Linked DNA regions of Homo sapiens: all the other regions are linked to region 1. The links are contacts of gene promoters, found by promoter capture Hi-C in blood cells and fetal thymus (Javierre and others, 2016). All regions are on one chromosome and are shown on one strand. The core of a region is centred on a gene start or on the middle of the fragment in contact, and the rest is flanking DNA. Distances in the headings are between cores, read along the strand shown. Region 1 holds the start of SERP1 (stress associated endoplasmic reticulum protein 1). Region 2 holds the start of RNF13 (ring finger protein 13). Region 3 overlaps MED12L (mediator complex subunit 12L). Region 4 overlaps RNF13 (ring finger protein 13). Region 5 overlaps MED12L (mediator complex subunit 12L). Region 6 overlaps MED12L (mediator complex subunit 12L). Region 7 overlaps RNF13 (ring finger protein 13).

What was found. The method cuts DNA at HindIII sites, captures the fragments that hold promoters and counts their contacts. A CHiCAGO score of 5 or more calls a contact.
Region 2: a contact is called between the fragment with the promoter of RNF13 here and the fragment with the promoter of SERP1 in region 1, in 10 of 17 cell types (non-activated CD4 T cells, fetal thymus, naive CD4 T cells and 7 more). The highest score is 13.8, in non-activated CD4 T cells.
Region 3: a contact is called between a fragment that was not itself captured here and the fragment with the promoter of SERP1 in region 1, in 1 of 17 cell types (naive B cells). The highest score is 5.2, in naive B cells.
Region 4: a fragment that was not itself captured here is called in contact with the fragment with the promoter of SERP1 in region 1 in 1 of 17 cell types (neutrophils); the score reaches 6.1 in neutrophils.
Region 5: a fragment that was not itself captured here is called in contact with the fragment with the promoter of SERP1 in region 1 in 1 of 17 cell types (total CD4 T cells); the score reaches 6.5 in total CD4 T cells.
Region 6: a contact is called between a fragment that was not itself captured here and the fragment with the promoter of SERP1 in region 1, in 2 of 17 cell types (erythroblasts and naive CD4 T cells). The highest score is 6.3, in erythroblasts.
Region 7: a contact is called between a fragment that was not itself captured here and the fragment with the promoter of SERP1 in region 1, in 2 of 17 cell types (total CD4 T cells and naive CD4 T cells). The highest score is 5.0, in total CD4 T cells.

What each region holds. Positions count from the first base shown.
Region 1 is chr3:150,544,769-150,548,885 of GRCh38, forward strand. SERP1 (stress associated endoplasmic reticulum protein 1) reads right to left here and starts at 1,728. Exons shown (of 3, transcript NM_014445.4): 1 at 1,284-1,728; 2 at 935-1,010. The coding sequence starts at 1,367. It overlaps EIF2A (eukaryotic translation initiation factor 2A), which reads left to right and starts at 2,019. Exons shown (of 14, transcript NM_032025.5): 1 at 2,019-2,062. The coding sequence starts at 2,035. RefSeq lists enhancers at 1,239-1,869, 1,315-2,514, 1,787-2,326. The HindIII fragment of the contact is 4,802 bases long and covers 495-4,117 here.
Region 2 is chr3:149,810,965-149,815,081 of GRCh38, forward strand. It overlaps RNF13 (ring finger protein 13), which reads left to right and starts at 2,251. Exons shown (of 10, transcript NM_183381.3): 1 at 2,251-2,389. RefSeq lists enhancers at 1,608-2,119, 1,985-2,094 and a silencer at 1,625-1,774. The HindIII fragment of the contact is 6,716 bases long and covers 1-3,597 here.
Region 3 is chr3:151,266,135-151,270,251 of GRCh38, forward strand. The region is part of intron 16 of MED12L (mediator complex subunit 12L); the gene reads left to right. The region is part of intron 1 of P2RY14 (purinergic receptor P2Y14); the gene reads right to left. It also overlaps the pseudogene SETP11. Among named protein-coding and RNA genes, the nearest start is that of P2RY14, 10 kb to the right of the region's middle. RefSeq lists an enhancer at 2,714-2,783. The HindIII fragment of the contact is 157 bases long and covers 2,382-2,538 here.
Region 4 is chr3:149,836,125-149,840,241 of GRCh38, forward strand. All of the region lies in intron 1 of RNF13 (ring finger protein 13), which reads left to right. Among named protein-coding and RNA genes, the nearest start is that of RNF13, 25 kb to the left of the region's middle. The HindIII fragment of the contact is 5,997 bases long and covers 1-4,117 here.
Region 5 is chr3:151,197,363-151,201,479 of GRCh38, forward strand. All of the region lies in intron 16 of MED12L (mediator complex subunit 12L), which reads left to right. GPR171 (G protein-coupled receptor 171) reads right to left here. Exons shown (of 3, transcript NM_013308.4): 2 at 3,547-3,635; 3 at 470-2,077. The coding sequence starts at 2,024. The coding sequence ends at 1,065. Among named protein-coding and RNA genes, the nearest start is that of GPR171, 3.8 kb to the right of the region's middle. The HindIII fragment of the contact is 2,400 bases long and covers 891-3,290 here.
Region 6 is chr3:151,140,570-151,144,686 of GRCh38, forward strand. The region is part of intron 5 of MED12L (mediator complex subunit 12L); the gene reads left to right. Among named protein-coding and RNA genes, the nearest start is that of MED12L, 57 kb to the left of the region's middle. The HindIII fragment of the contact is 759 bases long and covers 1,487-2,245 here.
Region 7 is chr3:149,960,477-149,964,593 of GRCh38, forward strand. RNF13 (ring finger protein 13) reads left to right here. Exons shown (of 10, transcript NM_183381.3): 10 at 264-1,663. The coding sequence ends at 628. Among named protein-coding and RNA genes, the nearest start is that of PFN2, 8.4 kb to the right of the region's middle. The HindIII fragment of the contact is 7,519 bases long and covers 1-4,117 here.

The DNA of each region.
Region 1 (4,117 bases), core at 478-2,977:
CTTAAAGCACCAAAGCCAACAGGTTTTTCCAGCATAGAATTATTTTGGTTTATAAGCATCCTTTTAAGGCCTGGCCTGTAACACATGCATGTTTCCTCATTCTCACAAAGCTGAAATTCAATCATCTTCAGGTTATATAAACTGCTTGGCTCTCATCCATTTATCAGGAAAGCTTCCAATTGGTAAGTGAAGAAGAAAGGCAAAGTGAAACGTTAAACAGAAATCTCAGTAATTTTAGAATGTGGAAAACAAACATCTACTTCAATATTAACAGCTTGCATATTAAAATGATAAATGAAGAGAGGAAAGACCTTTTTTTTGTAATCTATTTGCAAAGGCAAGTGTCTGTTACTCTTAGGGGACAGCAGGCTACCCCGACACTTTTTTTTTAAACCATGTATCAAACGTTTCTTTTATTAACCTAAAAACATTTGACTCACACATTAAAATGCCAATCAGGTAATTTCCTCTATAGTGAATCAATTCTTTGCACAAGCTTTATTTTATAAAATATACTCAATTTTGACATTAAGACATTAGATTCTGGTATATGTTAAATCAAGTTCTAACATCTATAGTACATATTTATAATTTTCTTTGCAAAGACTGATAATGGAGTTACAAAACATTCTAAATTCTCATTTCGTTAGGTTTTGTCCGGTCTTAACATTTATTCCAACTGGATCATTACCAAGACCTGACCTCCTTTTTGATCTCCTGTGAGTACAAATTAAGCTGGGAGAAGTTTCTGGAGCACCACCCTCTGTGCATATGTGGAACAAGTAATTTGGTTCAGACGAAACAGAATTATGTGGAGTCCTCGGCAGGTGGGTTGAGAACTACGCAGGTAGGACTCACTACTGACCGGTCACCACGTCATCCCAAATCCTTTCAACCCAAGACTCTACCTGATGGGAGCCCCCAAGCCACTTACCAGAACCACAGACAACAAAAATGAAGAGAGCCAATAACCAGGGTCCTACAGACGCCTTCTCTTCGGGGGCATTTCTCTGCAAAAGCGAAAATCCACCATTTCAGATGCAGAGAAACCACTCGGACCCCAGGCTCCCACGCCTGCACGCCGGTCGCCGGCCCCCTCACCTCACAGGTCTCCCCTTCCGTTCCCGAGCCCCCACAGTCTGGCGGTTCGCAGACTCGGGCCCCTACCCCTCCACGGCACCAGCCCACGGTCGGCCGGATCCGGGAGAAAACGCGACGCGGCCCCAGGGACCCGGACTCAGCTCCGGCTGCGGAACGCAGAGGGGCGCCCGCTCTTTCCTTACCGAGGTCTTGGCGACGTTGCCGCGCTGGGTGATGTTCTTGCTGTGCTTCTCGTTGGCCATACGGATCCTTTGCTTGGCGACCATCTTCGCGGCGCCACCACCTGCCCCGGCCACCCCTCGGACTCGCTCACTCGCCTGCCTCCTCTGGAGCCGCTGCGAGGCTCGGCTCGTGGTGCCCGCGCCGCCGGAGCGCCGAGGTTCTCAGGCCAGACGCTAGCTACGGCCGCTGGGCCTGGGCGCCGCAAGCGCGAGGTCTGAGCACAAGCCGGGCGCCGGCCGCCGACTGACTGACCGAGCGGGGCAGGTGCGCAGGAGGAAGAGAACTGGCCGCCGGGTCGTTCTCGCGCCGCCGTCGCCGCCGCTTTGGCCGCCGCCGTGAGCGCGGAGTGAAAGAGGAAGGAAACGCAACGCAACAACGGGAATGTGCAGCCCGCCGCCTCGATCTACTTTGGGTTCGGCTGCCAACGTCAGCACTAGACGGACTCCGCCCCGCGGAAGTGCGCGCCCCTCCCGCTGGAGAAGGAGGGCGAAAGCAGGCGCACCCTCCCAAGCTCTGTCAAGCGTCGCCCTAGATTTGCGCGTGCGCGTTTGGGCGCCTTTTCCGCGTCACTCCGTAACCGGAAGTGAATTGGCCCCGAGGCTGATGGCTCCGGAAACACCAATTCGCTGTCTCCACGCATGAGGAGACGTGTAGGGGCCGGGTTCGGCCCTGGTGAACTCTCACCCGAGCGGTTTCTCTTTCCGGGACAACATGGCGCCGTCCACGCCGCTCTTGACAGGTGAGTTCTGAAGAAGCGAGGGACTCTCTTTCTTCAGACTAGTTTCTTATTTTTGTCTTTGCCTTTGAGAACTACCCGAGGAGCCGGGGAGTCTGATCTGCCTTTTCTTGTGGCTTGCGGAAAGGCCAGACTGTTGGCTTTCTTGATATAGCGTGGCAATCGGAAGTGAAGTCTCCGCCTCTGGGCTTTCGTATTCCCCCTCCCTTTCACCCATCCATCATTCTTGCCTGCGGATTCATCTTCTACAGAAATAGAAGAAGGGGGAGAAAAACAATGTGCTAGTTGAATTTGTGACACATGGGTCTGCAATACTGGTGTTACACGGGCCCTTGTGAAGTCATTTAGGTCTACAATAAGAACAAAGACAAACATGAGTTAGTCCTCTAGAATGATCACGCACTTTAAATACACCTGGACTTAAGTAATTCCAGATTCTGGCCTTCCTGCCTTAATGAGGTTTGTAGGACTGAATAGGGAGAGTGGAGCTGTAATGCAGGTTTCAAATGATGAAGGTGTGGTTGGGAGAGGGTGTAGCAGTGAGCATGATAGAGATATTCTAGCAACATTTGATTTTGAAATGGTTATGAGCATATTAGAAATAGAACATTAGAGGACTCTTGAAATTTTGAAGCTAAAGACTGTAGTGTTGGAGGAGATAATAAACTTAGATTGGAAAATGCTGGGGAAGTTGCTTTACTAGGGTGTGGCTAAGAGTCTGCATATGAGTATTACGTAAGGAAAAGAGAGTCGGGAAGGAAAAGAAGGTTTTGGTTAAGTTCTGATAACTATATAGAAGGAAAAAGTCATTAAGAGAAAGGTTGTCTGCATTTAAGGAGGGAGGCTATTCCCTCCCTTCCCCCCCGCGAAAGGAACCTTAAAACATTTTTGCACTTTTTGCCAGTCTACATTTCTATTTTTACATTTTAAAATCTTTGTTATTAAGCGCCATGCCCACTGATGCTCAGTCTGTCTTCTGCAGTTTAGTCATCATTTATCAAACGCCGAGTATAATCTTCTAGATAATATACCAGGCAAAGACTGTTTAAAAGGCAAAGTTACATAATAAATTTTTTTTTAGGTTTGTAAAGGTAGCTTGTTATTCACAATTTTTAATACTAAATGCTTATTTGAACTCTAATGAAAAAATTACATTCTAAAATCTGATAAATAACCCCTCCTTTAAAAATGCCTACAGTAGGTAGTTCCTCTCTGCTTACAGGGTAGATTCCATCCTATGTAGCATAGTTATGTAACCATTTATAATCTTTGAATTGCTCTTGAGACTCATTTATTTCCTTGCCATCCCATCTTATTTGGTGCTCCATCAATACTGAACTGCTTCTGAGTCCCTTTGAACAACCTGTTTCTTCAGTCTAGTACTATCCTATGCCTCTTGTTGATTTGGCAAACTCTTTTTCATCTGTTGAAATTAAAATTCATTTTAGATATCATTGCTCTGTGAAGCCTTTCGTCACTCTACCCAGATAGAGTCAGTCACTTCCTGGGCTATTTTTGTACCTGAAATATATTTGAAATTTTATTTCACTTACTAAGTAGGATAATTAGACATTCACTTGCCTTTCTCCCCTGCTAGACTGTGAGTCCTTCAATGTCAGCGACAGGGTCTTATTCATATCTGTCTTCTCAGTACTAGTGCAGTGCCTGGTAGACAATAGATACTCTAAATCAGGGGTCCCCAACCCCCTGGGCCGGACTGGTACTGGGCAAGCATTACCACTTGAGCTTCCCCTCCTGTCAGATCAGTGGGGGCATTAGAGCCTCATAAGAGCGCAAACCCTATTTTGAACTGTGCATACAAGAGATCTAGATTAGATTTGTCTGTTTAGACTATCCTTTTAAATTAATGAAGGATAGCCACTTTATAGTAAATTAACCAAGGATGACAATTGTCTTACAGTGCTTAAAATCAGGGACTTTGTAAGAGCTTAAATGTTGTCTGTTCAGTCTACTCTTCATATTCTCATATTCTTAGAGGCCCAGAGAGATTAAGTGGTCCGATTCACACTGCAAATTGGCAGGATTAGGATTATACTT
Region 2 (4,117 bases), core at 1,001-3,500, 730 kb before region 1:
GTAAAATATTCTGTACTCAAGGTGCCTTTAAGGAATAAGCAAAGCTCTTTGTCTGAGCGTGGTGACTCATGCCTGTAATCCTAGCACTTTGGGAGACCGAGGCAAGAAGATCCTTTGAGGCCAGGAGTTTGAGACCTGCCTGGGCAACATAGCCAGACTGTAAGGCTAAAAAAAATAAAAAAATTAGCCAGGCCTGGTGGCACATGCCTGTAATCCTAGCTACTCCAGAGGTTGAGGTGGGAGGATTACTTGAGCCCAGGAGTTCTGGACTGCAGTGAGACATGATCTCACCACTGCACTCCAGCCTGGGCAACAGAGTGAGACCTTGTCTCTAAAATAAATAAAAATAAAACAACAAAACCCAAAGCTCCTCTCTGTGGACTTAATTTTTTTTTTTTTTTTTGGAGATGGAATCTTGCTCTGTTGCCTATGCCCGAGTGCAGTGGTGGGATCTCAGCTCACTGTAACCTCTGCCTCCCATGTTCAAGCGATTCTCCTGCCTCAGCTTCCCAAGTAGCTGGGATTACAGGTGTGCACCACAATGCCCGGCTAATTTTGTATTTTTAGTAGAGACGAGGTTTCACCATGTTGGCCAGTGTGGTCTTGAACTCCTGACCTCAAGTGATCCGCCTGACTTGGCCTCCCAAAGTGCTGGGATTACAGGCATGAGCCACCGCACCCGGCCTAAAAAAATTTATTTTGATGTTATGCAAGAAATCTGATTTAATATACCAATTTGGGATAATTTAATGAAAAAAATGCTTATAGAGATATTATAAATGTGTTTATACTAATTAGTCTTCTTAGTAATATTCCCAATGCTGACTTTTATTTATGACTTTCTTAAAGGCAGAATTGTGATTTAAGTATTGAATGTCTTTGCAACCAATGAAAAGTTAAGACTACATAGAATACTCATAGGATACACAGAAGAGGAAAGTACCTTTGATAGCTTTTATTTAATTTTTTAAAATTTGATCTTAAATTTCTTGTATTTGAATTTTATTTGAGTAGGTAATATTTGCAAGGTTCAAAATTCAAAAGGCACAAAAGGATACACAATAAGGAAAGAGTCTTTTCCCCATTGCTGTGTCCCACCTACTCAGGGCTCTCCAAGCAATCAAAGTGACAAGTTACATCCAATGGTATTCTACTAATACTCTGTGTGATAGCCTCCTCGCCACCATTTTTAAAAGATGATGTTGAAGGAGTTGAAGCCTGTAAAGGCCTTATTAAGGGTGCCTTATTATTTGAAGCAGAAGTAGTGCCTGATTCTATGTCTCCTGACATTTCTTTCAGGACTCTGTAATATTTGCCTAAGTCACACTGCTTTTGTAAGGTGGCGAGTTGGCAATGATTAATCAATGTGGATGGTACAATCCGGTAATTTAAGTTTCGACTGGTTTAAGATTGAGACAACCAGAAAGGAAGGCTTATCAGAAGGGCGGCAGGGGAGGAGATTTTTGGTTCATCAAAAGGAGGCAAGGGTTTTAAAAGGCTGACCTAGGGCCTGAATCACATGGTTTGACTTTTGCTAAGCCCCGGGGATGGCGCGTGTCAGGCCCAGAGTGCTGATGCCAGCGTGGATCCGAGCCAGGCCTCAGGGGACTGGCGTTCAGACCTCGGGCCGCTCGCATCTCTAACAATTTGAGCCCTACTTTAAGGTGTGGCCACGGTCCCCACCCACTCTGATCTCAGACTGGGCACGGTACGGAAGGCGGGCGGATGAGGCCTCGCCCTCGCCTCTTTAGTAGGTCGGGTGAGTGTAGTGTGCAGGGAAGAGACGCGTCAGCGCCAGGGCCAGGCCCGCCCGGGGGCAGCCCGGCAGCCGAATCTTGGGCTACTCTGTCCCAACAGCCGGAGCAGATCAGACCGACCGGCCCTGCCCGCTCGGTCCCGCGCCCTCCAGACCCTACGGTCTCCGTTTCTAGGGGCACATGGTTAGCGGCAGGCGCCCACAGCCAATCCACTTTGCCAGCCTGCCCCTTCCTCTGCCAAGAGCAGCTTCTTCAGCCGCGCTCCAGTTCCGCAGACGCCTGCCCCACCCTGCTCTTCCCTTCCAGGGAAGACGGATCACGCGGCCAAGAACGAGACTCGCAAACTGGGCATTTCTCCGAGCCGGGCTAGAGCAAGTAGCGAGACTCCGCGTGAGAGTGGGAAAGAGCCTTAACAGGCAACCATGTTGCCCAGTGGGTTTTCTGTGCCTTTGGGTGCGGACCAATGAGGCGCGTGGGGCGGGACTTCCGCTTCGCCTAGGTGTTGTCGTCCCTGCTAGTACTCCGGGCTGTGGGGGTCGGTGCGGATATTCAGTCATGAAATCAGGGTAGGGACTTCTCCCGCAGCGACGCGGCTGGCAAGACTGTTTGTGTTGCGGGGGCCGGACTTCAAGGTAAGACCCTGTCCGGCTTCGCGGCAGCCGGGCAGCTCGTTATCGAGCGGCCCAGAGAACATACCCCGCTTGTTGGCCCTCGAGCTCGGAGTCGGCCCTGCTGCTGAGGTCTTTGCTGCTCCTCTAGAGCTGGGTGAGAAGTCAATTAGGCTTTTTGCAAAAGGAATAAAATAGCCTTGCCCTCGGGGGACCGAGTCTCCCCTGCACTCTCATTCCGCGAGTTTGTGTGTGTCCAAAGTTGAGTTACCGGTTTTGCTTCTCTCATTCCCTTCTTGAGGCTGCAAGAGCCTGCCTGGAAAACATGTTTGGAAGGCTTTTCTTGGTCAAGTACCTGCCGCAACGTCCTCGGGCACATCGCTTGACTTTAGTTGAGGGGGCTGTTTTGTCTCTGAATAGAAGGAGGGCAGTCACTTCCTCTCTTTTACCCCCACCCCCTTTTTCTTTCCCTGGAAGCTCAGATTGCAGGTTTGGGACTTAACCCCTGCTAGGGCCAGATACTACGGTCAGTCAGCAGCTCTGCCTGTATGCTTGACTTGACTTGACTTGCACTTATTAAATAACTTTGTCCCAGAGAGAAAGAGAGAGTGGGCAGACATCGAAGCCAAACAGCAGTATCCCGGAAGCACTCATGCAACTTTGGTGGCGGCCACTCAGTTTTCTCTGCCAGTGTCTGGTAAATTCCTCTATTTTGTCCTAATCTGACAATAGTAAATAGTAAATTTCCAAAACTGTCGTTTCATCATCAGTTTCAGCACCGTGGGCAGCTGCTCGGGTCCTCTCTTGTTGCCCCAAACCTGCCCGGCTATTACTGTTCGTCAGTGATGCAGCAGAAACAGTGAAAACTGATGCATTCCTTTCAACAATGATGTGTTTGTTCTCCAAGGAGAACATCTGCAGTTTTTGATACAATATAAATAAGTAAGGTGGCTGTGCCTCCAAAGAGTTCTTCTGGAGAAACAGATCAATTCAAGATTTAAGGTAGGGCTTTCAAGAGTTTATGCTATTTAAGCACAGTTTTTTAATGGGTGGACATTAGCTCCATCTCGAAGTAACAAAACTGGACAGTGATAGCAATTAAAAAGAACTTTAAACAGGAGGTAAGAAGTGTAGTGCAGTGCTGTAGTGCAGGAAGTGTAGTGCAGTGCTGTAGTGCAGGGCCCATAAGGATTCATTAATAGATTTTAGAATCAATTTAGTACATTGACATAAGCTTTATAAAGAAAGAAAAAATACCAGAGGACATTGTATGGAATAAAAGTAAATATTATGGCAAGAAGCTTTTGTTTCAGTTTTTAACAGTATGTGTGTGTCAAGAGGAAGATGGAAATGTAAAGTGTATTATGGATTATGGCAAAAACAAATGTTTCAAAATACTAAATTCCAAATTTGGGAGTCAAGCTGGGTTCAGCTCTGCCATTTACTAATTCTGTGACATTTTCCGTAAATAAGAAATGAGTTGTTATGAGGATTAAATGAAACAAAATTTGTCTATTACATAATTTTTTTTTGTTTTGTTGGAAACTGTTGGAGAGAGGCACAGTTATTTTTCTCTATGTAGGGAATGAGAACTGTTTTATTAGTTTTTTTTTTTTTAACCTCTGCCTTTGTTTGAAGCTAGGCAGCTTGACATCTTGTCTCTATGTGTAATGCAAATCATAGACAGAATCTTGGTTTGAGAGGTATAATACTGAAGGGTTTGGGATAAGTTCTCATCTATGCTTGTATAAA
Region 3 (4,117 bases), core at 1,210-3,709, 720 kb after region 1:
ACAACGTTGTTACGGCAACTTTATGCTAATGATGCTGCTGCCTCTGTGCCTTTGAGGAAGGCTCATCTGATTTCTGTTAAATAAGTAGATGTCCCTTCATGACCTCAATTTCCAAGGTATTCAACATCTTCTATTAAAATGAGAACATGAACTTATCAAAGCCAAAATGTTAACAAATTTGTGAAATATTTGAACCCTATCACTGCATGTGTCTGGAAATCTCAAACAGAAGAGACTTTTAGGATCACATTTACAGTATCATCCAGATAGAAAGCAGTTTAGTGTTGAGCGAACGGACTTAACATTAAACACAGGTTGCCTAGACTCTAGACATTTTTTAAATTATATTTTTACAGAAGCAGTTGTATAATAGTGCAGTCCTTTTTAAAAATCGCGTTTCAATTTTGACTTCCACCTTAGCGTTAGCTATAAGAGATGGGGGTTGCTGTCTTATTTTCCTTGAACATTCTTTCCTATTCTAGTACCTTGAAGATTTTAAGTAAATGAAGGAGTGGATGAGCAAGTGATATGAACATATCAGTGGAAAGGAACTCCAGCCATGGGAGGAAAGCTTTGGGACTTGGTGGCTTGGCACAGGGAAAAATAAAGCATACATGCAGGAAATAGTTAGCTGCCTGGTAAGAAGAAAGACTAAGGTCAGAGCAAAAAAGTGCTGTAGATGTCCTACGAAGGGAAAACTTCCTTCTCCTGGGAAGGAATTGGTATGCTGTCATGCCCAGCATGTTGTAGGAGTCTGTAACTTTTATAAACCCCCACCTTCACATGAAGTCAATCCATTCTGTCCTGGAGTGTTTTCAGTATGGTTTAAAATGGATTTTATGGGATGTTTGGATTTACTTTATACATAGTGTTGACAAATTACATCTATACTGTAAAGTACAAAAGACTTTTTCCTAATTTAAAATTGTCTGGGCAGCTCATTCTAGAGTTCATTTCTTGCGTGTTAGAACTCCTTACATTCTTGAAGTGAAGTTTATTTTGACTGTTTACAGGAACTATCAACTAAACACTTCATGGAAGATGTGACTTATGACAGTATTCCTTACTGGGAGATTTTTGCTTTCTTTATTCTTTTTGACCTTTGGCTGTGAAAAGGATTGTACATTGTCATTTAGAAAGGCATAACAATAATGAAGTGCTATTAAGGAAATGGTAGTCATTGAAATACTTCATGAGAAAAGGAATTTAAGTGTATAATGTAATCAAATTTAAGTAGCTAATCACAAATCCCCTTTTCTTTTTAGAAAGAAACAATATCAAGGTTATATGTTACTTTCTCTTTTTTCACCCTAAATTCTAAGCCACTATTGATTATCCCTGAAATGTTAGCTTGTGAATCTGGGTAATTGTTAAAAACAGAAAAGTGCAAGCTACAAATGAGAGCCTCGGTCCTTGCTTAGATGTAAATAGTTTTCCTATGAATTTAAAACATTTTTTTAAAGCCACCTAAATCCTATAAAATAATGCCAGTGTTTCAGGCTATAGAAAATGTCTCTTGAGAGTAATATCTTGTAACATGTATTACTTATATATATAAGTCAGTTTTCAACAGAGCTGCTGTGAATTACTGTTTTATGGCCTAATTCATTAAAAAGAATTGCCTAATTGTGGTGTAGAAACTTAGGCACTAAGGCAGAGTAATAAGAAAGGAACCTTGCTAAAACATGGAGCATGTTTTGGCTGAATAATATCAAGGAAACAGCTGTCAAAATACAGTGTTTGAGAATAGCTTTTTAAAATTTCTTTGTACGTAGAGTATTTTATCAGTTGCTAAGTACTTAAGAAATGCGCTATTATCCTAATTTATGAATTTCTCCAAATGCCAGTAAAATGGACAAGGGTAATTTTTGCTCTTTTTAGTCTTATGCGTTCTTAGTAAAGTCTCAAGGAAATAGCTGGAAATGCTCTGTTTTAATATGCATCGGTGGTAGTCTTTAAACAGTGGGAATACTTCTTTTTATGTTTTCAGCTTACATGTTTTCAATACAAAGCATTAATAAAACATTTTTTAAAGCTACCTAAATCCTATAAAATAATGCCAGTGTTTTAGGGTATAGAAAATGTCTCTTGAGAGTAATATCTTGTAACATTTATTACTTATATATATATATAAGTCAGTTTTCAACAGAGCTGCTGTGAATTACTGTTTTATGGCCTAATTTGTTAAAAAGAATTCAGTCTATGCTAATGACATGGTAATTTTCTAACATATATACAAAGAGGAAGAAAATATGGTGAGCATACTGCTCTCCATTTTCTGTGCTGAGTTAAACTGCTATTTGTACAGAAATGAAACTGGATTATCCCTGCCCTAGTCAAGGCATGTCCTAGGCAGAACCATAACATGAGTTCTAAATGGAAGCTTCCAGGTTTCTCCATTTTGTCTAATTTGTGAGTTAGACATTTTGTCAAATTTTGCCTAATTTGTTTCAAATTTTGTCTAATTTGTGAGTTCATTCCCATTAGTGGTTTTTTAAATCTAGAATGTTACTGAGGCTGAGCATAGAGCCTTTAGTAAGCTTTGAAAACACATTTCTTCTAACCTATAGGGCATTTATAAGTGAGTCAGCAGTGTTTACAAAGCACTTGTTCTCTGCAGAGAGCTACTAACAGATGAAATGGAGGAATCAAGGAAGCAATTTAAGATGTATCATAGACCTAAAGGTAAAACTAAGACCACAAAGCTTCTAGAGGAAAATGTAAAATACCTTCCCAACCTTCGGTTGGTTTTAGTATGCAAAATTTTTTAGCCACAAAACAAAAAAAATTAAGTTTTCTGAGCGTCTTCCTGACGAGAAAGAAGAATTGTGGTCTGGTTCTTGAACTTTCCTAGCGGTGTGACCCCCAAAACCAAGACTACTTCCTGCTCTGAGACCGGAGGAGACATTGGCCTCTCTGGGCTTGCTGAAGAAGGGAGAAAAAGAACAGAAAGAAGCAATTGAATATATTGACGACGTACAAAAGGAAATACAGGCTGGGCGCGGTGGCTTATGCCTATACTCTGGGAGGCCAAGGTGGGTGGATCACCTGAGGTCGGGAGTTCGAGACCAGCCTGACCAACATGCAGAAACCCCATCTCTACTAAAAATACAAAATTAGCCAGGTGTGGTGGTGCATGCCTGTAATCCCAGCTACTTGGGAGGCTGAGGCAGGAGAATCACTAGAACCTGGGAGGTGGAGGTTGCAGTGACCTGAGATCGTGCCATTGCACTCCAGCCTGGGCAACAAGAGTGAAACTCCATCACACACACACACACACACACACACACACACACACACACACACAAAATTCAGAGACTTAATGAACAAGCCAGTGGGGAGATTGTGAAAGCAGAACAGAAGTATAACAAATTCTGCCAACCATTTTTTGGAAGAGGTCAAAATTGATTGCCCAAATTTCAAATTTTTGGGTAACAGCATTTGTCAGCCATCCACAAGTGTCTACATTACTTGGGGAGGAAGACAAAGAGGCACTGTATTATTTGACGAGTTGAAGTGACAGAATTTGGAGGTATTAAATCAGGTTACAGAAAGATTTTTATTTTGATGAAAATCTTTAGTTTGAAAATAAAGTTCTCTCCAAGGAATTTCATCTGAATGAGAGTGGTGATCTATTTTTAGAGTCCACTGAAGTCAAATGCAAATCTGGAAAGGATATAATGAAAACGTTCCAGTCAAACGCAGAGTAAAGTCAGCAGGAAGAGGCAGCACGAAGAACCAGAGAGCTTCTTTACCTGGTTTACTGACCGTTCTGATGCAGGTGTTGTTGAGTTGGGAGAGTTCATCAAAGATAATACTTGGACAAATCCATTACAGTACTACTTGGTTTTCAATATGGATGATGAAGAAAGGGAAGGAGATAAATGATGAAGAAGGATGGGAAGATATTGATAAAGAAAGGGGATAAGGATGAAGATGAAGAAGATGAAGATGATGATGAAAGGGAGGAAAGAAAGGGGGTGAAGGAGAAAATGACTAATAGAACACTGATAGGTTCCAACCTTTTTAAAAATTTTCTCCAGTTCCTGGGAGCAAGCTGTCGTGTGTGTGTGTGTGTGTGTGTGTGTGTGTGTGTGTGTGTGTGTGTTTTCTTTTG
Region 4 (4,117 bases), core at 711-3,210, 710 kb before region 1:
ATTTCTCTGATCACTAGTGATGTTGAGCATTTCTTATTTTGTTTGTTGGCTATTTGTGTATCTTCTTTTGAGAATTGCCTATTCATGTCCTTAGCCCACTTTTTGATGGGATTGTTAACTCAGTGGCAAAAAACCAAGCAACCCAATTAAAAAATGAACATAGGAGCTGAATAGACATTTTTCCAAAGAAGACATACAAATGGCCAAAAAGTACATGAAAAGATGCTCAACATCACTAATCATTGGGGAAGTGCAAGTCAAGACCACAATGAGATACCACTTTACATGTATTTTAGTATGGCTATATGTATATATATATATTGTATATATATGTCTATCATAAAATAGATTTAAAGTGGTATCTCATTCTGGTCTTGAAGGAAAACAACATAAAATAGCAAATGTTGGCAAGGATGTGAAGAAATAGTAACTGTTTGTGCATTATTTGTGGGAAAGTAAAATGGTGCAGCCACTTTGGAAAATGGTATGGCAGTTCTTTAAAAAAAAAAAATCAAACGTAGAATTACCATATGATCCAGCAATACTTCTGGGTATATGCCACAAATAATTTAAAGCAGGAACTCAGTTATTTTTTTCACAATAGCTAAAAGATCTAAGCAACCCAAGTGTCAATTGAGAGATGAATGGATCAGTAACATGGGGTATGTACATATAATGGAATATTACTCAGCCTGCTAAGGAAGGAAATTTTCACATGTGGTACAACACTTCAAGATATCATGCTAAGTGAAATAAGCTAGTCACAAAAGGACAAATATTGTATGATTCCACTTATATTAGGTAGTTAGAGTAGTTGAATTTATAGAAACAGAAAATAAAATTGTGCTTGCCAATGGCCAGGGGATGGGGCATGGGTAATTAATGTGTACCAGGTTTCAGTTTGGGAAGATGAGAAAATTCTAGGGATGGATTGTGGTAATATTTGCACAACAATGTGAATATAGTTAATGTTACTGAACTGTATACTTTAAAATTTTTTATATGGTAAATTTTATGTCTGTATGCCACATTAAGAAAAGAGGCTGAAGGCCTTCTGAAAAGATCACTGAAGAGTTAAAATAATTTTTCATGCATTTAGTAAACTTTTTATTATATAAATTCTCAAACATATAGAAAAGCAGAGAAATAGTGTAATGAATCTCAATGTAATCTTCACCTAGATTTATAGTGTGTTTTTTTCTGAAGTGCTTTAAATGACAGATATCATGACATTTCTTTCCTAAGTACTTTACTATAATAGATAGCTCCCCAAATAAGGACTTTTTCATACAGCTATTGTATTAGTCCTTTTTCACACTGCTGATAAAGACACCTGAGACTGGGCAATTTTCAAAAGAAAGAGGTTTAATGGACTTACAGTTCCACATCACTGGAGAGGCCTCACAATCATGGCAGAGGGTGAAAGGCACGTCTCACATGGTGGCAGACAAGAGAAGAGAGCTTGTGCAGGGCAACTCTCCTTTATAAATCCATCAGATCTCATGAGACTTATTCATTATCACGAGAATAACATGGGGAAGACCTGCCTCCATGATTGAATTACCTCCTGCCGGGTCCCTCCCACAACACATGGGAATTCAAGATGAGATTTGGGTGAGGACACAGCCAAACCATGTCATTCTGCCCTGGCCCCTCCCAAATCTCATGTCCTCATATTTCAAAACCAATCATGCCTTCCAAAAGTCCCCCAAAGTCTTAATTCATTTCAGCATTAACTCAAAAGTCCACATTCCAATGTCTCATCTGAGACAAGGCAAGTTCCTTCTGCCTATGTGCCTGTAAAATCAAAAGCCAATCAGTCACTTCCTAGATACAATGGGGGTACAGGCATTGTGTAAATACAGCTGTTCCAAGTGGGAGAAATTGGCCAAATCAAAAGGGCTACAGGCCCCATGCAAGTCCAAAATCCAGCGGGGCAGTCAAATCTTAAAGCTCCAAAATGATCTCCTTTGACTCCTTGTCTCACATCCAGGTCACGCTGATGCAAGAGGTAGGTTCCTATGGTCTTGGGCAGCTCCTCCCTGGTGGCTTTACAGTGTACAGCCTTCCTCTTGGCTGCTTTCATGGGCTGGCGTTGAGTGTCTACGGCTTTTCCAGGTGCACGGTGCAAGTTGTTGGTGGATCTACTATTCTGGCGTCTGGTGGACAGTGGTCCTCTTCTCACAGCTCCACCAGGTGGTGCCTCAGTAGGGACTCTGTGTGGGGGCTCCAACCCCATATTTCTCTTCCACACTGCCCTAGCAAAGGTTCTCCATGAGGGCTCTGCCCCTGCAGCAAACTTTTGACTGGGGATCCAGGCATTTCCATACAGATTCTGTAATCCAGGCAGAGGTTCCCAAGCCTCAATTCTTGACTTCTGTGCACCTGCAGGCTCAATACCACGTGGAAACTGCCAAGGCTTGGGGCTTGCATCCTCTGAAGCCAGGGCCCAAACTGTACCTTGGCTCTGTTTAGCCACGGCTGGGATGCAGGGCACCAAGTCCCAAGACTTCACAAAGCAGCAAGGCCCTGGGCCCAGCCCAGCAAGCCATTTTTTCCTCCTAGGCCTCTGGGCCTGTGATGGGAGAGGCTGCCATGACAACCTCTGACATGCCCTGGAGACATTTTCCCTATTTTCTTGGCAATTAACATTTGGCTCCTCGTTACTTAAGCAAATTTCTACAGCTGGCTTGAATGTCTCCTCAGAAAATGGGTTTTTCTTTTCTATTGCATCATCAGGCTGCAAGTTTTCTGAACTTTTATGCTCTGCTTCCCTTAAACATAAGTTCCAATTCCAAACCGTATTTTTGTGAATGAATAAAACTGAATGCTTTTAAGAGTACTCAAATCACCTCTTGAACAGTTTACTGCTTAGAAATTTCTTCCGCCAGATACCCTAAATCATCTCTCTCAAGTTAAAAGTTCCACAAATCTCTAGGGCAGGGACAAAATGCCACCAGTCTGTTTGCTAAAGCATATCAAGAATCACCTTTTCACCAGTTCCCAATAAGTTCCTCATCTCCTTCTGAGACCACTTCAGCCTGAACTTCATTGTCCATATGACTATCAGCATTTTGGTCAAAACCATTCAACAAGTCTTTAGGAAGCTCCACATTTTCCCACATTTTCCTGTCTTCTTCTGAGCCCTCCAAACTGTTCCAACCTCTGCCTGTTATCCAGTTCCAAAGTCACTTCCCTTTTAAACTAAGTTTTCTGGTATCTTAATAGCAGTACCCACTCCACTGGTACCAATTTACTATGTTAGTCCATTTTCATACTGCTATGATGAAATACTCAAGACTGGGTAATTTATAAAGAAAAAGAGGTTTAATGGACTGACAGCTCTACATGGCTGGAGAGGCCTCAGAATCATGGCAGAAGGCAAAGGAGAAGCAAAGGCATGTCTTACATGGCAGCAAGCAAGAGAGCATGTGCAGGAGAACTTCCCTTTTATAAAACCATCAGTTCACATGAGACTTACTCACTCTCATGAGAATAGCATGGGAAAGACCTGCCCCCATGATTCAATTAACCTCCCACGAGGTTTCTCCCACAACACCTGGGAATTCAAGATGTGGTTTGGTTGGGGATGCAGCCAAACCCATACCAGCCATAATACTATCATCATAGCTAAGGATTTTTTTAAAGGATATCTAATATCTGGGCCATATTTCCGTTGTCTCCATTATTCCGAAAATGTATTTTTATTGTTGGTTTAATGGAACTGTATGTTGCATTTGTCTTTACTGTTTCTCATCTCTTTTGATGTGTAACAATTTCATGCCATTTCCTCATTCTGTCCTCTTGTACTGTCTCTGTTTATTGTGTTGAATTTTGTAGAAATTGGGGCATTACCCTCAAGCAAGACACCCATCTTGTGGTATCTTATTTATTTTTTTTCATTCCAGAAAATTCTTGTAAACTTGAAGTGAGAGCTAAAGGCTTGTTAGAACTGGTTTAAAACAGTTTCGCAAGAATACATCTTAAGTGTTATAATACAGACTGAACAGAAAGTAAAATTAGAATTTGACAGTTGGAAAAATCTTTAGAGTGACGAAGCTGATTTCAGTTAAAATGTCTGTTAATAACTAGTAGAATTATGTCAAATGGTAGGCCA
Region 5 (4,117 bases), core at 841-3,340, 650 kb after region 1:
CATGTGGGCCAGGCTAATCTCTAACCCTTGACCTGAGATCTGCCCACCTCAGCCTCCCAAAGTGTGTGAGCCACCACGCCCGGCTGGAGTCACCTATACTTTAAACTGGGGCCCTACGTGGAGTCAGGCTCATCTTTCTGGACCTGGGTGGCACTGAGTAGCTCGGCCTGTGCTACATTCCTAACACGGCCTTGCTATGCGAAGTCAGTGTATCTGTTTTATAAAGACCATCTGACTGGTGCTGTTTTACCATTGATGTGCTATCGATGTGATTTTCTAGTTCCAAAACACTAGTTTCAGTAGTTAGTATAACTTAACAACTCCCTCTGAAATGTTACAGGGCCTCTGTGTTTCATGTTACTTCAAAATAGAAATGAGAAGTCACTAAATGTATTATTACTAACATCAGGAAGCCTTTATTATAACCTACAGGTAGAATATAATTACAAATAATACATTAAAGATTGTCTATATTTTTCAAGCCTTTTTATAAATAAAAGCTTTTGGTTATTGTGTTAGAAAAAAATTCGACATTAAAAATTGGAGGAATAATGAGTTGAAAGATTACCATCTTTTGAAGTGATAGATTAGAAATAAAATAGGCACAAGTTGTTATATGTAAGCTGCATTTTTTAAAAGTAATCTGAAAGGCTTTAAAATTATGTTGCTGGTGGGCTTTCTGGTAACTTACATGGAAATTATTTTTTATATTTTTATCAAGAAGTCAGTTCCAGGCATTTAAATGAATAACTCATGAATACCTTTGGGTCTATGTCATGGACCTCTTTTGGATTTCAAGGATATTGCAGGATTTTACATTCGTTCAATGAGACTCTTTAGTTTTTTGTACAAATATTTGGGTTAATGAGTAGCAGCAAGCCTAACAATAAAGCTTGACTTGCATTTAGAAACAGGATTTCTAAGTAAACCTGTCCATATTTGCTAGCTAACTGTATTTTTTCATACTGAGTTTTTTTTTGTTTTTTTTTTTTTTATCTTTCAAAGCTATAATTAACTTTATGGTCCAGTAAGGCCAGAATTGGTAGCACAAAAAATCCTGTCTTTTATGCATTATTTTCACATCTTAATTTTTCTTTCTGAGCCTTGGTCTCTTTAGGTGAGGCAAAAGTCTCAGTGACCTTTGAGCGGAATGCTTTTGAGAGGTGATAGTACAGGATAGGATCAAAGCACAGGTTCGACACAGCCAGGAGCAGTGTAGCCTCTTTGGCTTTGAAGAGTGAAATCCTGGTTGAGCAATCAGTTATGACTTCTGTCTGGCTGAGGGTATACGGGATTCGGACAATGTGGTAAGGAACAAAGCATATGATGTAGCCCGTGGTCACTAAAAGTATGTTGATGAGAGCCTTTTTCACATTTGGGTAATTTTCATTATCTTTGTTTCTGTAGAGCTGTCGAATTACAAGGCAATTGGATATTAAAATGATGGCTGAGAAATTTAAAAATATTGCTACACATATGAAATTTGTCAGCAAATGCCAATTTCTTCCAAATTCCTTTTTAAACTCCATACAACCCACATTTGACTTTTCCTTGATGTCTTTGATGGGAATCATCATATTTGGCACCATTATAAGAAGGACCATTAGCCACACAACGGTTGATATCATTTTGGCAAATCCGGGTTCTTGTATTCGGTAGATCTTGCAGCTGTGTGTCAGCTGAAGACAGCGGTCAATGCTGACAAATGCTAAGAAGATAATTGATAAATACATATTGATATAGATGAGGCAGGCTGTTACTTGGCAGTGGAATATCTTCAGCTTCCAAGGTGCCACACCCAAGTCAACAACAATTTTCACTGGTAATGCCAGAGTAAGCAGGAAATCGGCTGTAAGCAAATTAATTAAGTAGATGCTCACACACCTGTGATTCGTATTCTTCTGTATAAAAGCCCAGGTTGCAAAACAACTTCCAATAATTCCAACAAGGAAAACTAAATAAAAAAAATACGTGAATGGCTCCAGATCTTTATAAACTGGGCAGAAGAACGAACTGTTTGTCATCTTGAGGGAAAGTAAGGATGACTGCTTATTGAAAAGAAAAAATTTCTAAGACTCTGTAAAAGAAACAAGGAAAGGGAGGTTAGTAATTAAAATTAGCAACTATTTTCTTTAAAAGACATTGGTCTTCACAATACCGTTGTCTTTCCAGTTCTTAGAATTTTATTGGTGAACTTACCAGACCATATGGCCTGGTGAGAACATACTAGATTGTGAAGATGCCTGGGTTTTCCATTGTCTGATTTTGTGACTTTCAGGAAATCCCATGCAGGTTTGCTTTTGGTAGGGATATTTTCAACCTCAGGTTTTTCCATTCTGGTAGTTCTTGTTACCAGTTGGGTTGGAAGTTAGTTTGCAGAGGAGATAAGTGAACCGAGATTCTGAGAAGTAGAGAGAGGAAACTAGGGTTGTGGTTGAGCATGAAGAGCTTTCAATGAGGCCTTCTGGTTTTTTTCTTGTTTTAGTTTTTTGTTTTCCATAGATTCATGTGGCTCCTAAGGCTGGGAGAACCCAGGCTGACAGGGGAAGTAAGGAGTTGATGGAAAATCTCCAGCCTGGTCGCAAGAGTCTGTCTCAAAAACAAACAGAAAAAAACCAAAAAAACAAACAAAAAAACCCACAACTACCAGAACATGGATGTATGTTCATTGGTTACAAAATCCTTGGAGAAAGATTTATTTATATTAGTATCAAAACATCTGACTTCAACACTTGAGTCGCTTTTTTTTTCTTTCATTGTGGGTTTTGAAGCAGTTAAAAGCCCAGAAGCATAAGACATACCCTTAGAACTACTGTGATCACCACTGATAATGACAATGAAGTCTTGTCATGTCCCTCCCAAATCTGGAACATTGAGCGGGTTTGTAAGCTCAAGTTAAACTGATAGGGCTCCCTTTGACCTGGTCTATTCAAACTCACATGCTTAGAGCTAAGGGTACATTAGTAATCTTTCTGGTGCTGCCTGTTGGTGTGGGTCCCCCTTTTGCACATTAAACAGTGTTCTTTTGTTTTAAAGACCTGAAGATTATTTTTGTATTTTAGCAAGGAAACATTTTATATTATAATACAACCTTTTTAAAAGAAGCAAATATAAGTTATAGTGACCAACATTGAAGGCCAGATCAGCTACTCTGTAAGTGCCTTTTAATAAGAGAATAAAACTTCTGACATCTTTCTAAATTTTAATTTCCCCAATTAATTAATGATCCTTTGTGTGCATTTGTAATGAAACAATGTATGCAAACAGATGAATAAGGCAGATGTACACAAAGCTTTCTAAATTCAAGTGCTGCTTAAAGGCTACATGCCCTTTCTCTTTCCCTACCTGAGTTAGCACGTTAGAGTCCATGAATAATGTCATTCTTTACCAAACTCGATGAAAATAATTAAGCAGTTGGTTTGTATCTGGCACTATGCCAAATACTTTACATGTACTTATTTAACTTCTTATCATTTCCATAAGCTAGGTGTTGTTATTGTCCCTGCTTTACAGATGAGGAAATTGAGGCATAATGGGGTTACTTACCCAAGGTTGTGTAGCTGGTAAGATATAAAGCCAGGATTCCAGCTCAGTCAGTCTGATCTCAGAATCACATTCAAAACCACTCCAAAACACTGCCTCAGTAACAATAGTAAGATGATGATAGAAATGATAATGATTATTATTATATCTGCCAGTCTTTACTAAGGGCTTACTGTGTGGGCAGGAACTATGTTCTAAACAATTTTTATGTAATAAAGCTGAAATAAACTATTTTTAACTTTTTACCAAAATACTAAGAATATAAGTTTAGGCTTTTCGTATATTTTGCTGTTCTATGCATACAACCACGTGCACACACTCTCTCTCTCTCTCTCTCTCTCACACGCACATTTAAAAACAAAACCTAGGCCCATCCAATAAGTTTAAACCAACTTTGCTCTCAAAGCTTCCATAACCTAGTTTCTCTCTACCATCTCTACTTACATCCCAGATTAAGATTGGGATTGGTGGGGTCTCTATTATTCTGTGTACAGTTCCTTCCTGCCTTTATACTTTTGCATGTGATAGAAATTTTGGAGTCATAGGATTTTAAGGATGGATGGAAACTTTATCG
Region 6 (4,117 bases), core at 616-3,115, 600 kb after region 1:
TCCAAGTTAGAATGCTGGTGTGTGGTTGTGGTGGTTGTATATTTATGTTTAATTAATTTTTTGGTGAAATCAAAGAAAATGTATGCCCATGATAGTTTTTGAATTTATTTATTTATTATTTATTTTTTGAGACAGAGTCTTGTTCTGTCGCCCAGGCTGGAGTGCAATGGCCTGGTCTTGGCTCATTGCAACCTCTGCCTCCCGGGTTCAAGTCATTCTCCTGCCTCAGCCTCCCGAGTAGCTGCGATTACAGGCACGTGCCTCCACACGCAGATAATTTTGTTTGTTTGTTTGTTTGTTTGTTTGTTTGTTTTTTGAGAGGGAGTCTCGCTCTGTTGCCCAGGCTGGAGTGCAGTGGCACGATCTCGGCTCACTGCAAACTCCGCATCCCAGGTTCACGCCATTCTCCTGCCTCAGCCTCCCGAGTAGCTGGGACTACAGGCACCCGCCACGACGCCCAGCTAAGTTTTTGTATTTTTAGTAGAGATGGGGTTTCACCATGTTAGCCATGATGGTCTCGATCTCCTGACCTTGTGATCCACCTGCCTTGGCCTCCCACAGTGCTGGGATTACAGGCGTGAGCCACCGTGCCTGGCGTTTTTTTTTTTGTTTTTTTTGTTTTTTTTTTTTTGTTAGTAGAGACGGGGTTTCACTGTGTTGGCCAGGCTGGTCTCGAAATCCTGACCTCGTGATCCACCTGCTTTGACCTCCAAAAGTGCTGGGATTACAGGCATGAGCCACTGGGCCTGGCCAGTTTTTGAATTTCTTAGAGAAATGCATTGAAAGAAATTACTGTATTTCACTTGAATAAGGAGTGATTTAGTTTAAAAAAGGTTTATCAAGAGTCTGTGCATTGGGGTAGATGCTGTGAAGATTTTTAACCAAATGGGGGCTGTGCTGTTTGTCTGTAAGGGGATACCATCTTTTTGTGGTTACAAGATACACACCTAAAACGGAGCATAATACATTAGTATCTAATTACCTGTAATCATATAGGAAATAATGGATCGACTGGAAAAATTAGGGAAAGTTTTCTGTAGTAGTAAAATATGAGCTATGCCTTAAAGAAATCTAGCCTTTAAGTAAGAATTGGGATTTTTTACTCTGTTTTTTGGATCTTAAGTAGTTCTTGGTTCTTCAGTTATCTTCCATCTTCCTCTTTGGCAACTTATGAGCAAATGAATTAAGTTTATAGTTCTGTTCCAGATAGTATATTCGCTGCAGTCTTTACTACTGTCATTTCTTCTGGTCTTGTCACTTTGGGTGAATGGTCTAGTCCCACATTTTCTGTTAAGAATCCATTGCTACTCAACAGTTTTTTCTAGTCAGTCCTAGTAAATGTTCACTCCCACTTGAATTAATCAGTCATCTTCTATGATAAAATGTTAATAAGAACCTTGATTTAATTGGTAAATCATGGTTCCCTACCCTCTTTATGGCTATTGGTATATACGTGCATACTTGGAAGATAGTATACTACAAAATAAGCTTGTTCAAAGTCTTGGCAGTTTACAGGCTGGTTTCGTAGCTTCTCATTTGGGCTAGTTTTCTTGAAAATTCTCTGAGGTAGTTGAGTGCCTCCATTTCACAAATGAGGGGACAAAGTTCGTGGAAAGTGGAAGAATGGGAAATTCCATCCTAGACTTCTGTTTCTGGGTCCTGTTTGATTTACAGAATTTGCATGCTGCTCACATCAAATGAAGATCAACTGTGTGAAGCTGAGTGGGGGAATGGTGTTTGCTTAAGGTATGAAGAATGCTTCCAAAAGCTCAATGTTTAATGAGTTTTAATTTGTTGGGCATCTTGCAGATCTGTTGCTTAAAGCATAAACAAGAGAATTTTAAGAAAAGATAGCTTCTTGTATGAGCTAAAATTTCTAATAGGTAATATTACAAAATGTGGTCCAAAACACAAAATGTTCAGAAAGGGATAGTGAAGTCTCCTTTCTAACATACTGTCTTCAGACCCCCTACCTCTATCCCAGACCCCTCCTTACATAGTTTAGAAGCAATAATTCTTACCAGTTTCATGCATATCCTCTGAGATATATTTCATGTATTTTTAAGTGTAGATTTTGTGTATTTTTTAACAGTCCTTTAAAAAATTGGTGCTTGCTCCATACTGTGCATACAGTGGCCTTGTTTTTTAAATGGCTCTAAGCTAACCTTTTAATGACTTATTTATAAAAGCTAGGTTCTTTATTTTTGCAATTTGCACTGGAATGTTAATTCCATGATAAATAGAAAGCTTTTTTTTTTTTTAATTAAAAAGAAGTACATTAGGTTTCAAAGTCATTTTCCAAATGTGTATAAACTTCCAAGTGAAATCCCTGGAATAACATGGCTCTAAAGCCTGATTCAAATCTGTTATTTTGTAGTCAAGGAATTCATAGGGTATGCCGGGTAGAAAACAGTTAAGGGTCAATAAATTATAGTTGGAATGTCTTTGTGAATCTAACACAGCTAAAGCAAATAGCTTTAATTAAATGAACATAACATGCATCATTCTTTAGTCTCCAGAAAAATCACACAGGAGTGAGTTCCGGAGCAGGGAATGAGAGGGAAGCCGGGGTGGATCTGGCTGGTCTGTGTACTGTGTAAGCATTTTTGCTGTGTTTTAGAGCTTTTTGCTCTAGGGTTATTTTACACGGTCATCTGGCAATATGATGTCTGTCGTATTTGTGTTCTAATGAAAGACTCTTAGCTGTCTAAAGCTTGTTCAGAAATAGAAACTTTACAGTAACTGCATTTAGGACCTAAATAGTAAGCACAATGCCACTTTAACTATTGAAACGTTACTCTAACTACAGCTGATCATGGGATTAAATTCCAATGCAAAGTGAAAAAAGAAAATGTAGTTTGTTTATTTTTGCTCCTCAGATGATTGGGCGCTTCCTCCCACTGCCTCTGCAGCAGAAGCTGGGAGAGGAGGTGAGGGTCGTGAAATGTCTGATGTAATAATTTAAATAACTTCTGTGTCTTCAGAGTGGGGCTAGCAGCAAGTATCTTTCACCAGTGCTTGTCCTCCGTTTTTCTTTTGCTCCCATTCCCCTGAATCTTCAGGAGGGTGGGTGCCTTCCCTTTCTTCCCCATGTCTCCTCTTCTCCCTTCTACAGCATTGTCCCCCAAGACCTGGCCAGAGGAGTGCACAGAGGTGTGTTCTCTACACAGAAGCAAAGTGGTGGCCTGTGTGTCTTGCTAGAAGACAAGTCTTACATCTTCCTACAGTCCTCCTGTCCTGGGGCAGTAAAACTCATGACTTGGTGTCACATGTAGAAGGCTGTGGGGATATGTCCTAAGTGGTTAATTAAGTGCACCAATTTAATATTTGTAAAAATGCTGTCCCTGTTATTCCCTATGATACGAATATTTCACCAAAGCCAAGGCTGTTGCTCACTCAGGTATATATAGAAATCTGAAAAGATGACAGAAATTTACCATATGATAATTCCAACATTAATTTCAGACTGCTATCTCATGCCCTGGAGAAGGAGCTGAGCCTGTTGGTGGCACATGTTCAGTGTGTCCCTCTGTTAGAAGGAAGCCCCCGAAACTGTAGCTGTGGGGGAAGCTGGTGGTGTGACTGATGTGTCAAATAAGAAATTCTTGTTCTAAGGGCTAAAATTGGATTCTGTGGTTGCCGCATGCCTTAGCTTGAGATGCATGTACAGGGTTGATAGGGAAAAAGGACAACTGGGGGAAAAAAAAATCCCTAAATGCGACAGTTAGCATGTTTACGTTAAAATGAAAATGAGAATTGGAGACCTGTGAGTGAAAGGGAGAATCCAAGAAAGGTGTCCAGTGTGGTTCTCCTCAGCTATCAGATACAGCCCAGCAACCTCACAGGAAGAAAGATGCAGTCGGGAGTTTCCATGCAACCTTGCAGTACAAGACTTTTGTGCTCTTGTCAGACCCTCCCTTGTCGACCCCTCTCCCCTATTTTTGTATCCTTGTCAGAGGCCTCGGCCCCCTGTTTTCTGACTTGGCCACGCTGGTCTCTTTTCTTCTGAAATCTTAAGCATTGACTACCTGACACACAACTGGGCAAGTATTTAGATATTGCCTTATAATGGCCTTGTCTTTCCTGGGGTACTGCCCCCCTTCCTCAGCTGTGTTAT
Region 7 (4,117 bases), core at 941-3,440, 580 kb before region 1:
AGCTACTAGGGAGGCTGAGGCAGGACAATGGCGTGAACCCAGGAGGCAGAGGTTACAGTGAGCTGAGATTGTGCCACTGCACTCCAGCCTGGGTGACAGAGCAAGACTCCATCTCAAAAAAAAATAAAAATAAAAATAAAAAATAAACTTTCTTCCCGTCCCTACATGATACATACAGAACACTGAATAAATATGGCAAGAGATTAAATATAAAAGTATCAACCGCAGCATACTAACTAAAGATGTATATTTTGCTTCAACAGCTTATCACTGCAAGTGTGTAGACCCTTGGCTAACTAAAACCAAAAAAACCTGTCCAGTGTGCAAGCAAAAAGTTGTTCCTTCTCAAGGCGATTCAGACTCTGACACAGACAGTAGTCAAGAAGAAAATGAAGTGACAGAACATACCCCTTTACTGAGACCTTTAGCTTCTGTCAGTGCCCAGTCATTTGGGGCTTTATCGGAATCCCGCTCACATCAGAACATGACAGAATCTTCAGACTATGAGGAAGACGACAATGAAGATACTGACAGTAGTGATGCAGAAAATGAAATTAATGAACATGATGTCGTGGTCCAGTTGCAGCCTAATGGTGAACGGGATTACAACATAGCAAATACTGTTTGACTTTCAGAAGATGATTGGTTTATTTCCCTTTAAAATGATTAGGTATATACTGTAATTTGATTTTTTGCTCCCTTCAAAGATTTCTGTAGAAATAACTTATTTTTTAGTATTCTACAGTTTAATCAAATTACTGAAACAGGACTTTTGATCTGGTATTTATCTGCCAAGAATATACTTCATTCACTAATAATAGACTGGTGCTGTAACTCAAGCATCAATTCAGCTCTTCTTTTGGAATGAAAGTATAGCCAAAACATAAAAAAAAAAAAATCCTCAGTATAGCTTGCAATTAAGACCTAGATCACAGTATTTAAGTGTTTTGCGTTTTATACATGAGGTCAGTGCTACAGCCACCTAGCATGAACTAACCCAGCTTCCACCTCCATAAAGTTACCTAGAGTTGTTGAGTTGGAATATGTTCTGGCATTTACCTGACCTGCCAATCATTAGGGAGAGGCAACAAGGTAATTCAGCCTTTCCTCCTATCAGCACAAAGAAACTCAAAGCTGTTTTTTCCCTTTCTGTTCCAAAGCAGTCTTATCCTGACAGGAGCGGTCTATACTAGTGCAGATTTCAACACTTTTTTTTAACGTTTTAATTACTATAGTGTTATGTAGAGATTTGATTGAGCAGCTAATGTTTCTGAACTTTACTTACTAATTTTCAGTGTCCTTAAGGGTTCTGTAGTGTTATCAAAGCAAAAAGAAAATGCTGCATAAAAATACCAAACTTCAGCAACTGTTAATACTCAGATCATATACCTCTTAATAAATAGCATCTTATGCTAATTAGCCCTGCTAAACTATGTACAGAGGAAACTGTTCAAGTATTGGATTTGAAAGTAAGTGACTTATGTTTAACAGAACTAATGATGTATTGAAACACTGTATTATGAAAAGCTAAATTATACATCATTGTAACTATGTAGAAAGTGTAGACTAATGTATAATCAAAATGCTAAGGATTTTTATATGGCCTTGTATGAGGGGAGTTTGAATGTTAATAAACATGTTTTCCACTTTAAGATCCAGTAAATGTCTGTTCTACTGTAGTATTACTTACCATATTAGCCTTATTTATATATATCCTATAAAGTGATAATGATTGAGGTCAGAGAAATCACATCACCTTAGGACTTTATACAAGGTAACTGACCATTCACATGCAGTTAGGTAATATCCCAAAAAGTTTAGACTGCTGCCAAAATTATTCCAAAAATAAACAGTGTACATTTTGGTACCCTGTTGTAAATTATGGTATATCGAGGGAAAATTTCACTTTCCAAATTGCCTTTTAAAAAATAATGTTCATAATCAGGAAAAAAATAAATAGGTATTTCTACTTTGGAAAATAAACGGTTGAATTCAACATCAGCTATCTGATACCTCATCCCTCTTCCCCTTTTTTATAAAAAATTAAAGAACCACAGGCCTGAGAAACAGGACATCAAAGGTTACCACGGTAGTTAAGCAGAGTTTGGAATTTGACATAATTGTATGGCCCTAACCTTTTTAAACCTGCTTGGTCATTTGCATAATTTTCATTTAACCTAAGAGGGTGTGAGGAGAAAACATTGAGCTCAGTATCTGGCACATCAATGCGCAATAAGTAATAGCCTTCAAAATAATTATTATTAAATAAAAACAAACCTAAAACAATATTTTAAAATAGGAAAAGGGAAAAAAGTAAAAAGTCACGGTAATGGTTAAGTATGTATTAGATGTTATATTCCCTCAGTCTTTAATCCAAAGTTTAGAATAAGGACCTGGTCCCTTTATGTTAGGAGTTTTATGGAAAAAAAAATTTTTTTTTGAAATTCCAAATAATTACTAACTAACTGTAAAAAAAAATCTACGAAGTGTCTTATTTAGCAGCACTGGCTAGGGCTGTTACTAGGTTCTGTGAATGTTCACTTGAAATGTTCTATAATTTCATGGTATAGCTTTTCAAACAGGACAGTAGGTGCAATTAAAATCCAATTTCTATTTAAAAAACATTTAAAACTTTCTTGATTACAAAAGTAATATTAACACTAGAAATCAAAATATAGTCACCTGGAAACTTTCACTCCAGAGATAAATTTATCTTAATATATTGCCTTCAGAAATACATATGTAAAATACATGTATATTAATACTGTATGTATGTGCACTGTCATGTGACATGTTTATATCCTTATATTATTAACATTCATTGGTAAACATTCTTATGTCATTCTTCAATGACTATTTTGTCCTATGGACTTAAAATCATTTATTCAAACCATACCCCTTAAAAAGCTGAACTTTGTAGATATTTTCCAAGTTTGGATGTCATAAGTAATGCAGCATGATGGACATTCTGGTATACAAATTTGTATAGCTTCATTTCCATATGCTAAATTCCTAGAACTAAGTACAAAGCAAAGTACGCATGTATGTATTTCCCTAAGTATTTTTCTAATGAAATTGTGGGTAGAAAGCCAATGAATAGTTTCATTATATACTATTTTAGTGATACACTCACCCTTTACCACCTTCTCTACCCACAACCTCCTCTCTGAACACACACATACACACTGCCCCTTCACCTACTTACAGATTAATTAAGAGTTTCAGAATTTTGGTCACTGCCTTCTATAATTGGTTACCCTAATAGTTCTTTACATGTAAAGTGTGAATGTGTATTATTGTAAAATCTCAAATCATCACAACTCAACCACCAAATTTTCATTTGCCCCGTCTTTTGGCCTTAACAGGTCAAGAAACTGATACCAGGTTTTTATTATAGTTTTACAATTTCTAGGTTATGTCCAACTACCAAAATAGCCCCAAATCCTTTATCTCCCATATTTGTACATCCCTGTGTATGTACAACCATATTCACAACCAGTGCCTGACAACTAGTCAAAGAAAAAAAAACTTTCATTATGCATAGTATATTTTAAGACAGGTTAATTCCTATTCCCTAACCCATTTTTTCTCAAAAGGTAGCATATACACCACTTAAAATGAATCAGACTGACTCAGTGATTGTTTCTGAAAAGGGATTCCTGGGCTTATGGACTCTCCATCTCCAGAGTGGAACCCCAGAGTCCATAGTCTGCCTTATAACCAGCTCCCCAGTTTTACTGAGACCTACTAACTTTTGAGCACCCCTGGCTCTAAGCGTCCGCTTGACAGTTGTTGGTAATAATGATTTATGTAAATAGCCCTAAATTTACATATTTATCAAACTTCAATATATATCAGGGATTTTATGGCCTCTGGATTTAAACCTATTACACAGCCATGGTCAACATGTCACTACAAAGCCAAAAAATGCAAAAGCATCCCAATTATCTTATATGCTGCCTAAGGAATGTCTTCTGCTCTTATGTGGGAGGGCCCCAGCTGGCTGACTTCAGCCTGCCAACACAGCTTCCAAATCTAAAGTCATATGACATTTCAATACAGAAAAATCCACAATAGTGCAGAAACCCTTCTTGGTACTCCCTTTACTATTAGATTT